Regions from separate parts of the Homo sapiens genome. Here regions 1 and 3 are each linked to region 2. The links are contacts of gene promoters, found by promoter capture Hi-C in blood cells and fetal thymus (Javierre and others, 2016). All regions are on one chromosome and are shown on one strand. Each heading gives the region's core, a stretch centred on a gene start or on the middle of the fragment in contact. The rest is flanking DNA. Distances are from core to core; before and after follow the strand shown. Region 1 overlaps PARP14 (poly(ADP-ribose) polymerase family member 14). Region 2 holds the start of IQCB1 (IQ motif containing B1). Region 3 holds the start of PARP15 (poly(ADP-ribose) polymerase family member 15).

Evidence for each region. Contacts are between HindIII fragments. The CHiCAGO score rates a contact against its expected background, and 5 or more counts as called.
Region 1: a contact is called between a fragment that was not itself captured here and the fragment with the promoter of IQCB1 in region 2, in 1 of 17 cell types (activated CD4 T cells). The highest score is 5.1, in activated CD4 T cells.
Region 3: a contact is called between the fragment with the promoter of PARP15 here and the fragment with the promoter of IQCB1 in region 2, in 1 of 17 cell types (non-activated CD4 T cells). The highest score is 5.0, in non-activated CD4 T cells.

The regions. Positions count from the first base shown.
Region 1 is chr3:122,688,829-122,693,316 of GRCh38, reverse strand. PARP14 (poly(ADP-ribose) polymerase family member 14) reads right to left here. Exons shown (of 17, transcript NM_017554.3): 4 at 774-1,016. Among named protein-coding and RNA genes, the nearest start is that of PARP14, 10 kb to the right of the region's middle. The HindIII fragment of the contact is 2,756 bases long and covers 1,595-4,350 here.
Region 2 is chr3:121,833,711-121,837,691 of GRCh38, reverse strand. IQCB1 (IQ motif containing B1) reads left to right here and starts at 2,632. Exons shown (of 15, transcript NM_001023570.4): 1 at 2,632-2,726; 2 at 3,213-3,301. It overlaps EAF2 (ELL associated factor 2), which reads right to left and starts at 2,483. Exons shown (of 6, transcript NM_018456.6): 1 at 2,301-2,483. The coding sequence starts at 2,406. The HindIII fragment of the contact is 9,498 bases long and covers 1-3,981 here.
Region 3 is chr3:122,575,614-122,579,849 of GRCh38, reverse strand. PARP15 (poly(ADP-ribose) polymerase family member 15) reads right to left here and starts at 2,200. Exons shown (of 12, transcript NM_001113523.3): 1 at 1,997-2,200. The coding sequence starts at 2,182. RefSeq lists a silencer at 1,844-1,893 and enhancers at 1,954-2,233, 3,768-3,817. The HindIII fragment of the contact is 6,929 bases long and covers 1-4,236 here.

The DNA.
Region 1 (4,488 bases), core at 1,723-4,222, 860 kb before region 2:
GTTTTGGGTGGTGACAGCTCTCTTCCCAATCTCAGAGATTGTCTACAGATTCCTGACAATTACCTTAAAGAGCACTCATTGTCTGCATCACACGCACTTACTCATACCTACATATGTGAATGACCATGAAAGTGCTAAGGACATATCAGGTAAAGAGGTAAGAGGACAGGTGTAGAGATAGGCTGCCTGGGTTCAAACCCAGTTCATCCATGCATTCGCACCTTTGTGTTTTGTCTCCCCAACTGTAACATGGGGATCAATAATAATAATCTCATAAGGTTTTGGAAAGGACAAATAAATTAATACACGTAAAGAGGCTGGCATAGCACCTGGCTTATAGTAAGCACTCTATGAGAGTGTGTTATCATTACCTTCCATGAAGTCCAGTTTGGTAATACAAATATTTACTTCACCCAGTGAGATAACACATGTGAAAAAGCCGACTCCTGTACTTGGAATCACTTGGACTTCAGATGTCTATTTGCTGTGTTCACGCACTTTCTTACCCTCTCTGCCTGTCTCTCTCTCTCTCTCAGTCACACACACACACTTGGGCACTCCTGCAATAAAGTTAATTCTACTAAAAATATGGAATTTGGTTTCAATATGAATATGCTTCACTTTCAAAATAAAAAAAACTATATTAACTTGGAAACCTCTCTTAGTAGCTACTAGAAAGAGTCAAACTTTCAGAGATGTCCCCCTAAGAGGTATCTCAAGTCTCATGATGTGGTACAAAGAAGACAGGCAGAGGAAGTGTCACTTCATCTTACCTATGTGCTTTTGAAAGGTAACAACAGCAACATCAAAATCTCTTATTATTTCCACTTGAAAGTCATCATTAGACAGGCCACTTATGTTCTCCACTAACAAGATTAGCATTATGTCAGTCACATTTGCCTTGAGGTTTTCAAATGCCACCAAAGAGGAAATATTTTCACATTCCTCTGGGATATCTTCCATTTTGTCTAATCCACCATCAAGAGGGAGTTTTGTATCCAATTCTTCTGACACATCTGATTTTAGGAAGACAAAAGAGGTACAAGATGTTATACTTATCTACCATGGTCTTAGCAAAGTAAGTTATCACAAGGCACTGCCCTCTCTCCTTGCCAATCTCTTGGCTAACTCACAGAATAACAGACCTTGGATGGCTTTTTGCTTTATTTAAATAAAAACAACATGTAACATGTAATTGCCTATTATTAAAATTCATATTTTTAAATTTTCATTTTGACAAAATAGGTCTGTATTTTCAAGATTATAGGCATTATAGGGATAAAAAGATTTTCATTTATTGCTGGTGGGTACATATATTAACCTCTGTGGAAATGAATTTTAAAAATTTGTCCAAAATTATTAGTGATAAGAAAAAATATTCACATTACTTAGCTAAGTAAATAGTCATTTATAGAACAATTTACATTATAGGACTATTTTTATATGTGAATTTTATATTAAAATTATACATAATTGAAGTTTAATTTTATTATACCCTTTTCTGCCTGGCCTTTTTGAGGAACCTGCCTTATATTTCCTAGCACTTGATATCTATTTCTAGCACAGCACCAGACTAAAATTATTCAACAAAGCTTCTCAAAAGCGAGACACATGTTTATTCATCCTTGTATTGCTAGCATATGGTATATAATTGAGGCTCAGTAAATGTTTGCTGAATTGGAGATTTACTGCTTGGGTCACTGGAGGAAAGCAAGACTATCTGATGATGCCCAAACATGGGTATCACCTAACACATTATACTCCAAAAAATAGTTAAGTTCCCATCACTGAAAAGAAAAAAGGATCCCTATAGCAAATGATTAAGGAATACACACAGAAAGTGAAATGGCCAAGGCCTGCTGTATACGAAGCCCGCTGAATGGCAATCACCCAGCTGACTCATTCCTCTCCACTGTTGACTGTAAAAATGAGTTACACATACACACAAGGTCAGTCTCACTGTATGCTTGTCCACTGAAGCATGGTGGGTACGATCTGATCTTTAGGCATTCTGTGGACAGTTTTTCAATGGGGACTCTTATCGTGTTCAAGACCCTGGATGTAAGGAGAAGTAAGAATATAAAAAAACATTAGTTAAGAAATTTACAGATTTTCTAATGGAGGTATATGAGGAAAATGACATGTGTAAATGTTCGCAGTGGCCACATAAAATGCTCTGTGTGCACCAAATCCATTTTGCTTACTTCCTGGACAATATTTCTCAAGTTTTCTGCAGTTCAGTTTCAACAGTAGTGTCCCTGCAGTTAATGGAATATGGGTGGAAGTGAATTCCACCTTCAGGCCTGGCCAATATAAATATCCTTAATATGAAACCCCATTCTCCCTTGCAGTGACCTTGGAAACCACATTTAAAGATAATGGTGTCAAAGGGTGGAAGGAGCCTGGGTCCCTGAATGACCACATGAAGTGACTGACACTCCCACCACCATCACAGCTGCCAACTACACTGAACTGTGATGCGAAGGAGAAATAAACTTGTGTTGTGGCCAGGCGCAGTGGCTCATGCCTGTAATCCCAGCACTTTGGGAGAACGAGGCAGGCGGATCACTTGACATCAGGAGTTCCAGACTAGCCTGGCCAATGTGATGAAACCCTGTCTCTACCAAAAATACAAAAATTAGCCGAGTGTGGTAACACACGCCTCTAATCCCAGCTACTCAGGAGGCTGAGGCTGGAGAATCGCTTGAAGCTGGGAGGCGGAGGTTGCAGTGAGCCGAGATTGTACCACTGCACTCCAGTCTGGGCGATTCCGTCTCAGAAAAATAAATGAATAAATAAACAAACAAACTTGTGTTGTGTTAGGTTACTGATTTGGGAGGTTGTTTGTTACAACAGTTAGACCACTCTGTTGTGTGCTGGCTATCATGCCATGCACACACACTCATGCTAAATTAAAAAAAAAATAGCTTAAGCATAAAGCAACTACATAAATTAGCACTAAGTGAGACAGGTATGACAAATCACAATGACTGCTGGGCTAGGGAGGAGGCTATATGTGTTTAATCCCTGCTGCCACTCTTTAGCCATGTGACCTTGGGCATGTCTCTTAATCATAAAATGAGGGTATAGGACTAAGTGAACTGGACTGAAAGAATCTTTCCAGCAATATAGTTTTATAATCCCATCAATATTAGACGCTTCACCACAAGAAAGGCTTAATTGACCAAAAAAGAGCATTAACAATCAGGCCAAGAGTCCCAGAAAGAGATAAAAGGGCTGGGCTGGCATGGAAAGACTTGAGAGAAGAGGAGGAAGTTCAGCAGGTCTTGAAGGGTATGTGGAATTGGGTAGAGAAAAGTGGGCTAGAGGGAATGGTGAGCAACAGAAGCACAGGCAGAGTGCTGCAACTGCATCAGACAATTTAGAAAACAGTGATTTGACTGATGTGGCTCAAAAGGCGCACAATTGTGCAGAATGAAGAAAATGAGGCCAGAAAAGCAGACTAGATCCAGAAGGTGGTCTGGACTTTATCTCCCAGCTTGTGGTAAGGGTGAGTCATGGAAGGTTTCCATGAAAAGGATGGCAGGCTATTTAGCAATAGTGCAAAGGGCTGGTCAGGTTTAAGGAGAAGGGTGGCAGACACAGACAGAGCAGGCAGGGAGCTCCTGCCATGTTGAACTTGTGAGGTAAAAAGGAAGGGCCCGTGGTGAGAGAAGGATGGATAAGGAAAACTTTAAAAGAAAATGAGGCTGGGTGCAGTGGCTCATGCCTGTAATCTCAGCACTCTGGGAGGCCAAGGCGGGAGGGTCATTTGGGGCCAGGAGTTCAAGACCAGCCTGGGTAACATAGTGAGACCACGACTCCACAAAAAATGTTAAAAATTGGCTGGGCATGGTAATGCATGTTATAATAGCCCCAGCTACTTAGGAGGCTGCTGTGGGAGGATTGCTTGAGCCAGGGAGGTCGAGGCTGCAGTGAGCCAAGACAGCCTGAGCAACAGAATGAAACCCTCTCTCCAAAAACAATAAAATAAAATAAATAGGTCTCTATGATCAGCAGATGTGAAAGGAGTGATGCGTGAAATGTCTAGTAGGTGACGAGCAGACTGATTGTGTACTTCAAGAGAAATGAGGAAGCCAGAAAGGGCCCTTGCTTGGGGAGGAAGATGACACATGTGGCTTCAGGCATGTTGGCTCTAATATACTTCCCAACAGGAAGGTCAGACAGAAGTTCTGGAATTGAGAGAGGAGTCCAGGCTGGGGATATGGATTTGAAAACACCAGAATTTCCGACCACAGGTAAGCAGTATTTCTCTGCTCTTGCCCTTGTCTCTTCTCCAGGACCTTCCAAGTGCTGGTTTCCACCTTTCAGACCCAGCCCAACTAAGCTTATCCTGGAACAGGACATTAGCTCAGTGCTGACTTCACCTGATCTTGGTGTGTGTGCCTTTCCCTGCCCTGTCAGCTCCTGCAGACGCCTCAGTTTTAAACTTTTTGCATGAGGTTTCGGGCATGCTTAGTGCATTCA
Region 2 (3,981 bases), core at 1,383-3,882:
CATATGAATATAACTCTTCAACATTAATGGTGACTACTATTTATTCTCTACCCTGTGGCAAATATTGTTCCAGGTTGTTTATGCTATCTTATTTAATCCTTACACAAACCATGAAATGTAAATATTACTATTATCTTTTAGCCATAAGAAAACTGAGGTTGAGAGCTTAGAGAATGTTCCCAAAGTCACATTATATATATAGGTGGTGGAGACCAGGATTCACATCCGGGTTTGCCTGAAGTCTTATATCAGACAGGCAGAATTGCTCCTGTAAATAAAGGCAGAATATTACTTTCTCTCCAATGACATTGGCTTGAGGGTTGGTTATAAATTAGGTCCCCCTTATCTGCATGAACATCAGCTTCATACTATTCTACAATTTTCAAACCTCACTCTGAGTTCTTAAGAGTGAGGATTACATTGGAAATGAACCTGTCCTCAAGAATAATAAACAGTTTTATTTAAATAAATCTAAAATGATTCTGTGCCATTACCACACCTGCTTCAACAACAACAATAAAAGAAAATAAGGACTGAAAACTTTTCTAATAGTTCTGTCTTCCACAGGACTAAGTGTGTATTCAAACATGTATGTTTGTTTATTTATTATTGTCATTATTGTTGTTTTGCTTATTTTTGTTTATTTTCATTCTGGTAGCTGGATCATCTGATCCTCTGACTTTCAAGATACTGGCATTTTCAGAACCTTTATAAATGAAAGGCTGTGAAGGACCTGCAAGATTATTTTCAAAGGCAATTTTTTATTCATTTAAATTGGGATTTGTGCCCTACATAAGAGAATATATACCCAAATCATATAGAAATATATTCTTAAGCAAATTTTTATAATCTTAAGCCCTTGTAACTTGAAAAATTAATATTAAGACTATTGCATACCTGAGAAGGAAGAGAAAAGGAGAGAGTAGATACTATTTGAGAAAAAGGCATGGAAAAACCAGATAAAGACGCATATCACACTTCCGGAAAATGGGACTGAAGAGAGAGAAACTGCAGAGCCAGCACAGCACCATCTCATCGTGGGGAGCTCTGGATGAGAAAGTATATGATAAAGAAGAATAAACAAGGGACACTGTTGAAGAGTTTCTGTTCACAAATATCTCACCCATTTATTCTACCAATTGGATGTTAATTTTGCTTTAAAAAAACCCTTTTAGTAAATATATTCTTGCAGGGTTAAAACCAGTGGTTCTTCATACCTTTACTTTGAGTAACTATAACTAAATTGTCTACAACTTAAATAAACTTTTGGGAGAATGTATGCTTTAATTAGTTGTTTTGATTGAACCATGGAACATTTCAGAGTAAAAACCATAAAGGTCTCTAAACAACCCGAGAACAGAATGACTGAGAAAGGCGGAATGATGAGATATTAAGGAAGGGCAAGGCTGGGGAAAGGAAGTGAAAAAATACTTACAGTTTTACCACAGAAAAATGAGAAGTTATAATTCAGTGATCTTGAAGTTTCCTTCCCGCTCTACAATTCTATGACAGTTGTTATGCAAAAAACGAATGTCTTACACATAAAAACTTATATGCTATATTTTCCTTCCTGGAATCTATATCATCCAACTGCTAAAGCAAAAGAGCTCCTTTTTCTACTCCAACAACATAAAAGAGAATAATTTATTAAAACTAGTTCCAGAGGACATAAAGAAAACCAAAGGGTAGAAATCATAGGGAGGTAAGCATCTTCCAAATAAAGAAATTAATAACACACCCTCGAATACTTTGATAATCAGTATTTGATAACTGAGTGAAATCTGGGGTCCAAAGAGATATACAGATCATTGGGATGGTTGAGAATTTCTCCCTTTGCAAAGAACACACCAAATAAGAACCCTCATCTGCCAGAGGTGAGAAAAAGTGATGAAAAGAGAGAATATTGCCCCACCAGCCTCAAGGCATTCAAGTTCCCCGGCATTCGGTCCTTAGTCCCTTCCCATTTGTCACCTTATTATTTTCCTGTCCACCCCTGCATCATCCACCTGTCACGTCTGTCTCCACAGTCACCTCTACAGACTTTTTTCACACTTTCCCTTCCTGTCTGCTGGTCTCAACGCTCTCTGTCCAGGGTTTACCCACATTTGCTCTACTCCGATTCCTTCCACCGACCCCCTAAGACTCCGAGCAGGTTAGAGGATCGCGCTGCCTCCCCCCTCCCCGCCCCGTAGTCTCCAACAGTGTAAGGGGTACTGTGGGAACAAAACCCAGAGGGGTTTGTGCCTCTTCACCCCCATCCCGGGAGGCTCCCCCTCTATCCCCGGATGGTCCTCACTCACAGCGCACAGTGTGGAAGGCGCAGCGCGGCTGCTTCTCGAAACTCTCCCCTAACTTGAGAACCCGCTCGCGACGGTCTAGGTGTGAGAATCCCGCTGCGCTATTCATAATTACTCTCCTGCTTTGACTTTAACTCCGCCACCAGCGCTCACTATCTGCCACCTCAGCCTGAAGCAGCTGCACTTGATCCCGCCAGCCAAGTCACCCAGACTCCACCCCGCGCTCGACGCGCACCGCCCCACCGGAGCGTCTCACGTTCTGATTGGCTTATTAGCAAAGGGCGCTCCGCCCCTTGACTCCGAGGCTCCTAGTCCCGCCTCCAGGCCCCTTCCCGCGTCGCGACGCACGCTGCCCCGGAAGGCCGCGGCGCTGTAGTGCGGCGTGGGAGCCCCAGGTTCTTTAGTGGAAGAACGCGAAGCGAGGATGAGGTAACTTATCTGAGGTGGTGGCTGGGGAGGGAGAGGGCCCCAGGGCGCCTACCAGGAGGCCAGGACCCCAGGCTCCTGGACGAAGTCAGCCGGCTTGTAAGAGCTCTTAACGGGAGAATCGGCCTGCCCTCACGCCCACTCTGTAGAGATCTGGTGTGGAAACTGAGGCCTGGGGAGGTGCAGTGTCCAGGCACAGGGCCTAGTGTCTTATCCAAGGCCTGGTAGCGCGAAAGCCGGGTCTAGAATCTGGAGTAAAGGAGCCCAGAGGCCCCAGAATCTCGGTCCTTAGACTTGAAGCGACGCTGTTACCTCAGTAATCGTTTTCTGACCTTTTTGTACCAGAGGAAGTTTCTTGTGGTCCTAGGACTGGAGAAGGGGATGTGTAGTGGGGAGGAGAAAGAGGATTCGGAGATAGCAACTGCAGACATTTAGGATCAGCCGCAACAGGATCGCACTGAATTTCCTTTTCATTTATTTTCCTCACAGTGATCCGTGGAGGCAGTAACAGGCGCGGCGAGGGAGAAGTGATTCCCGAAGAATCAAGGCTGGGCCGGACCCGGTGGCCTGGCAACAGGGTAGTAGCCTTAAAATAGATAAATAATTGTCTTTTTGTGTCAAATTTCATGAATTTAATGTAAAGATGGGAGAAGTGTTGAATTATAGGAGAAACACTCGAGAAAGTTTACAGATGGTTTCCATAACAGGTGGTTTTTCAGGGTAATTACGCAATCCAACTGCACTCCCTCACCTTCTGCCTTAGGCACATTTGTCAATTGATTTTGGGGTAGGTGGTTATGTCTCCTTCAACCTGTCTGTGTAAATCCTACCCTTTGAAGGTGTGCCGAAGCTGTTTCATATCGTAGTTAAATGCTTTAAGGCAGATGGTGGCTCTAGTTTGAACCCCTGCTTTATACTTAACAGTGTGACTTTGTGCCAGCTAATTACATTCTCCAGAGTTTAAGTATGCTCATTGTTCAAATTGGGAAAAAAATAATAGTATCTGTTCCTTAGAGTTGTTGGAATGATTAAATGAGTTAATACATGAAAGCAATTAGAACAATTCCTGGAGCATGATAAGAGGTCTCCAAATGGTTATTTAAGGCCCAGCTCTACACTTATACTACATTTTAAGACCATCTTGGTGGCTGCCTTCTCTTCTAAATAGAATCATTCTAGGAGGTAGGAATTGCTATTTTGTTTACAGCAAGAAAAATGGTTCAGAGAAGCCCAGTCCTCTGACTTTATGGCCTGTATT
Region 3 (4,236 bases), core at 951-3,450, 740 kb before region 2:
GTGCCACCATGCCTGGCTAATTTTTGTATTTTTAGTAGAGACGAGGTTTCACCATGTTCGCCAGGCTGATCTTGAACTCCTGACCTCAAGTGATCCACCTACCTTGGCCTCCCAAAGTGCTGGGATTACAGGCGTGAGCCACCGCGACCGGCCCTCAATACATAGATTTTAAAGAATTCAAATAATGAAAAATATGTTTTCTGACCACAATGAAATTTAACTATTAATAGAAAGCAGTAGCAAATTAGTGATACCTAAGGCTCCAAAGACTCTCTGCTGAATGATTTCATGTACATGACGTTCTGGAACTACAGGGACCAAAAGATGACCCTAGTGGTTGCCAGGAGCTCATCTTGAGTGAAGAGGTTGAAGACAAAGAAACTGGTAGAAAACTCTTTTATATCTTCATTATACTGGTAAACATTTGTCAAAACTCACAGAAGTATACACTAAAAAGTATGAATTTTCTAAATATAGAAAAGCTGTCTGTAAATTACACCTTAATTTTTAAAATGAAAGAAAACATCAAAGCATACATACACGTAAATAGACAACATAGCGAATGAGTAAACCTCATATATAATATTGAGAAAAAAGAAAAATTGAAATGTTTTATGTGAAGATAACTATAAACCTTCTTTAAAGACACAAAAATAGACTTAAACAATGAAAAGGCATCCTTTGTTTCGCTTCCTTTTCTATGTGCTTCAAAACATTCCTTCATAATGGAGATTTCATTGGTTGTGTCGAGGATCAGTACACAGATATTTCAATTTGTACACTATTCTTAACATACACACACAAAAAAGTTTAAAAAGTCATGTATTGTAATTGTTTTTAAAAGTTATTCTAGTGACTTTCCAGCTTAAAATTTGGAGGCAAATTTTCCTTAAGAGGATATGAAGTACCAGTATCTACAATTGTTGAAAAGCTGTTACATATGTCCCACCAATTCACAATTTAATATCATATACATTACATACTCAAATTTTCAATCTTTCACAGCACAGTAGGTTAGACCATGTCAACACCACCTAAAGATATCAGCTCTCTGTAATTTATTAATTTAATGCAATCCCAATAAAAATTCCAAAGAGCTTTTCTTTTTTTTTTTTAAACTGATCATACATCAGAAAAGTTCATAAGGAAAAATAAACAACAAGAATAGCTAGGAAAATAGTGACAAGGAAGCACTCTCTAGGAAGACTAGCCCTGACATTAAAACATACAGCAAAGCCTCTCTAAAGCAGATGAATAAACGGGTCAATGGATGAAAATAGAAGGTCCAGAAATACCCGAACCACATATGAAAGTCTAGTACATGATAAAGCTGGTATCTCAAGTTACTGGGACAGTGACGACCTTTATAATAAATGGTGTTGGGACACTTGATACCCATTTGAAAAAAAATAATTAGATTCACTCCTCAAACCACACACAATAACACACTCCAAATGTATTATAGATCTAAATGTAAAAAATACATCAGTTCAAGTACTAGAAGCAAGCATGAGTGAACTCTTCTATAACTTGGGTGTAGGGAAGAGTATGACTAAAAGTCATATATTAAAATATGACTAAAAGTCTAGACGTCATAAAATAAAAGACTGGTAAGTCTTGCCACACAAAATTTAAAATATTTGCATGGCAAAGAGAAACAAAAGCCCCCCATAAGCAAACTCAAAAAACAAAAAATAAATTGGGAGGACATATTCATAACACATATCACGAATAAAGGACTCATATCCTTTCAAACTTTATAAAGAACTTTTAAATTTTAAGGGAAAAAAAAAAAAAACCACCAGAAATGCTAAGGAAAAAGAAGCAGCACGCATCCCCCTCTTCCGGAACAGGGAAGTCAGTGTAGTCGGCGCCCCCTAGAAGAGAGGGTTGTGCGTGGCGTGGGGTCTCTGCGCCCGCTCGGGCTGCTGGGTCTTGCGGGCCCCAGGCTCAGCCCTGCTGTCCCCTTCCCGCACCCGTCCCCCGCGCTCCTCACCATACTCCGGGAGGAAGAGCGCCGGGAGGCCTTCCGCGCCCCACGGTTCCCGGCCGGCAGCACGCTCCCCGCCTCCCGATCTCGTCCGGCTCTGGAAGTAACACCTGCAACTCCGTGCATAAGTTCTCTGGGGGTCGGAGCCCCTGGACTCAGAGCAGCGGCAGGAAGGGGGCCTGGCGCAGCCATCCTCAGCTCGCTGGGACTGCAGTTGCGCCCCACCCAACAGGCTTGTGCCTCGAACTTCTTTTCTCTGAAAACCGCTTCCGTCAAAGATTGAGGCCTCGAGTTTGCGAACAGCTGCCTCAGGATTGTGTCGCCCTTTGGGACAGACGTTACTGCCAGACAAATCCTGGGTCAAAATCCTGAGGTCTGCAATTTTATTAGTTATGTAGCCTCAGTCAATAGCATCTGTACAGTGGGCACAGCCATAACTATTTCATGTTATTATAATGAAGATTAAATGAGATAAAGTCTGTAGAATGCCTGGCACATTAAAACACAGGAATCAGTATTCCTTTCCTTTTCTGTTGGGCATCCCACTCCTTTCCCCCCAATTCTCCCTACACACCCATATTTAGAAAAATACACTGGGTTCTCTCCTGTGCTCCCTAAGCCAGGGCTGGAGTCAGGTTCCCCTCTGGCCCAACAGGGCATTATTTAATTCAATCAACGCGTATTGAAGGCCTTTGATATGCCTGGCACTGTGTTAAGATTATAAAGATGAATTAGACACAGATCCCCTCTCTTTGGAGTGAGGGGTGAAGTAGGAGGTGGAGAAATAAAACATAGATTAATACTGTTACCTGGTGTATCACGAAAAGTCCTGGCAGTATACAGATGGTATACTCAAAATTAATAATTGAAGATAATTTAATAAAGAAATTATTTACACAGGTGTGGGCAAAGGGTTAAGGAAACCATTGAGAGATGGTGAAGTAGCCTCCTCCCCTTACCATCTAGGCTGAAGGGGCAAGGGAGGGGGCATCTCCTGAACTTGGTAAGAGCTATACCAAGTGCCAGCAGGTAGAACCCATGACTGCTTTCGGAAGACAGCCAGGGGAGTATAAGCATCCCAAGTACTCTCTCCGTGTGCCTTCCAATCTCGTGCTGGTACCTCCCACTGCAGAACCCAATGAGTAATCAGAGAATGGAGCTGATGTGGTACTTAGAGGTCAGCCCTCAGTACCACCTCCAAGGCAGAGAGCAGGGTAAAAGGTTTTGGTATCGTATTTGCATTGAGATACATATAAAGTATTAGGATAACAGAAATCAGTGGTTCGTTGTAATTTAGAGACAAGATTGGAGAAAAGTTTCTATAGTAGTGGCATTTCAGTAAGACCTTGCATGATGAGTAGGGGACTTTCTAAGAGGAAAATCAGGTGAAGAATGAGAATGAGGTGTGTCTCTCTCTCCCTCTCTCTCTTCAGAGTTCCCTTTTTCATCATCTGTCATGCAGAGAGCAGCGATGGGGGTGGATTACACAGAACAAAGATCACATGAATGAAAGCATAGACTGTGCTTTGGAAAATCTTGTAGTCTGGTGTGACTGAACCCTAGGGACTTGGTGGTGAGGAAGGAGCACAAAGTATGCAAAGTGGCATGAGCAATCGCTAACGGCCATGCTGCTGAGTTTAAACTCTATTTTCTAGGCCAGTGGATCTCTAAATGTAATTCCCAGACCAGCAACATCAGGTTCATTGTGAAGCAGTAACCAGGGTGATAACCCCTAGCACCGCGTTACATTACATCTTACTTTGCCTCACTTCTCTTTTTGTTTGTCCTTGGGCTTGGACCTCCAAAATTATTAATATCTTAATCTTTGCATCAAGCTCTATGTTTTAGATCTGATCAATAAAAATGACCCAATCGATAAAAAAGGAAATAGCACCTAACTTCTGTATGGAAATCAAACCAAAAACAGTACTAAACATTTTTTTTTTTTTTTGAGACAGAGTCTCGCTCTGTTGCCCAGGCTGGAGTGCAGTGGCCTGATCCCAGCCTACTGCAACCTCTGCCTCCTGGGTTCAAGCAATTCTCATGCCTCAGCCTCCGGAATAGCTGGGATTACAGATGTGTACCACCATGCCTGGATAATTTTTGTAAACACTAAACTATTACGGTAAGTGTAAGGAAGTCCAATAAAGATCTTATTTTTCTCCTAATGATTACTTTGATGCTATTTTCAGGGAAGCATCAAATATGTATTATTCTTTTATTTTATTTTTTCTTTGGAGAGAAGG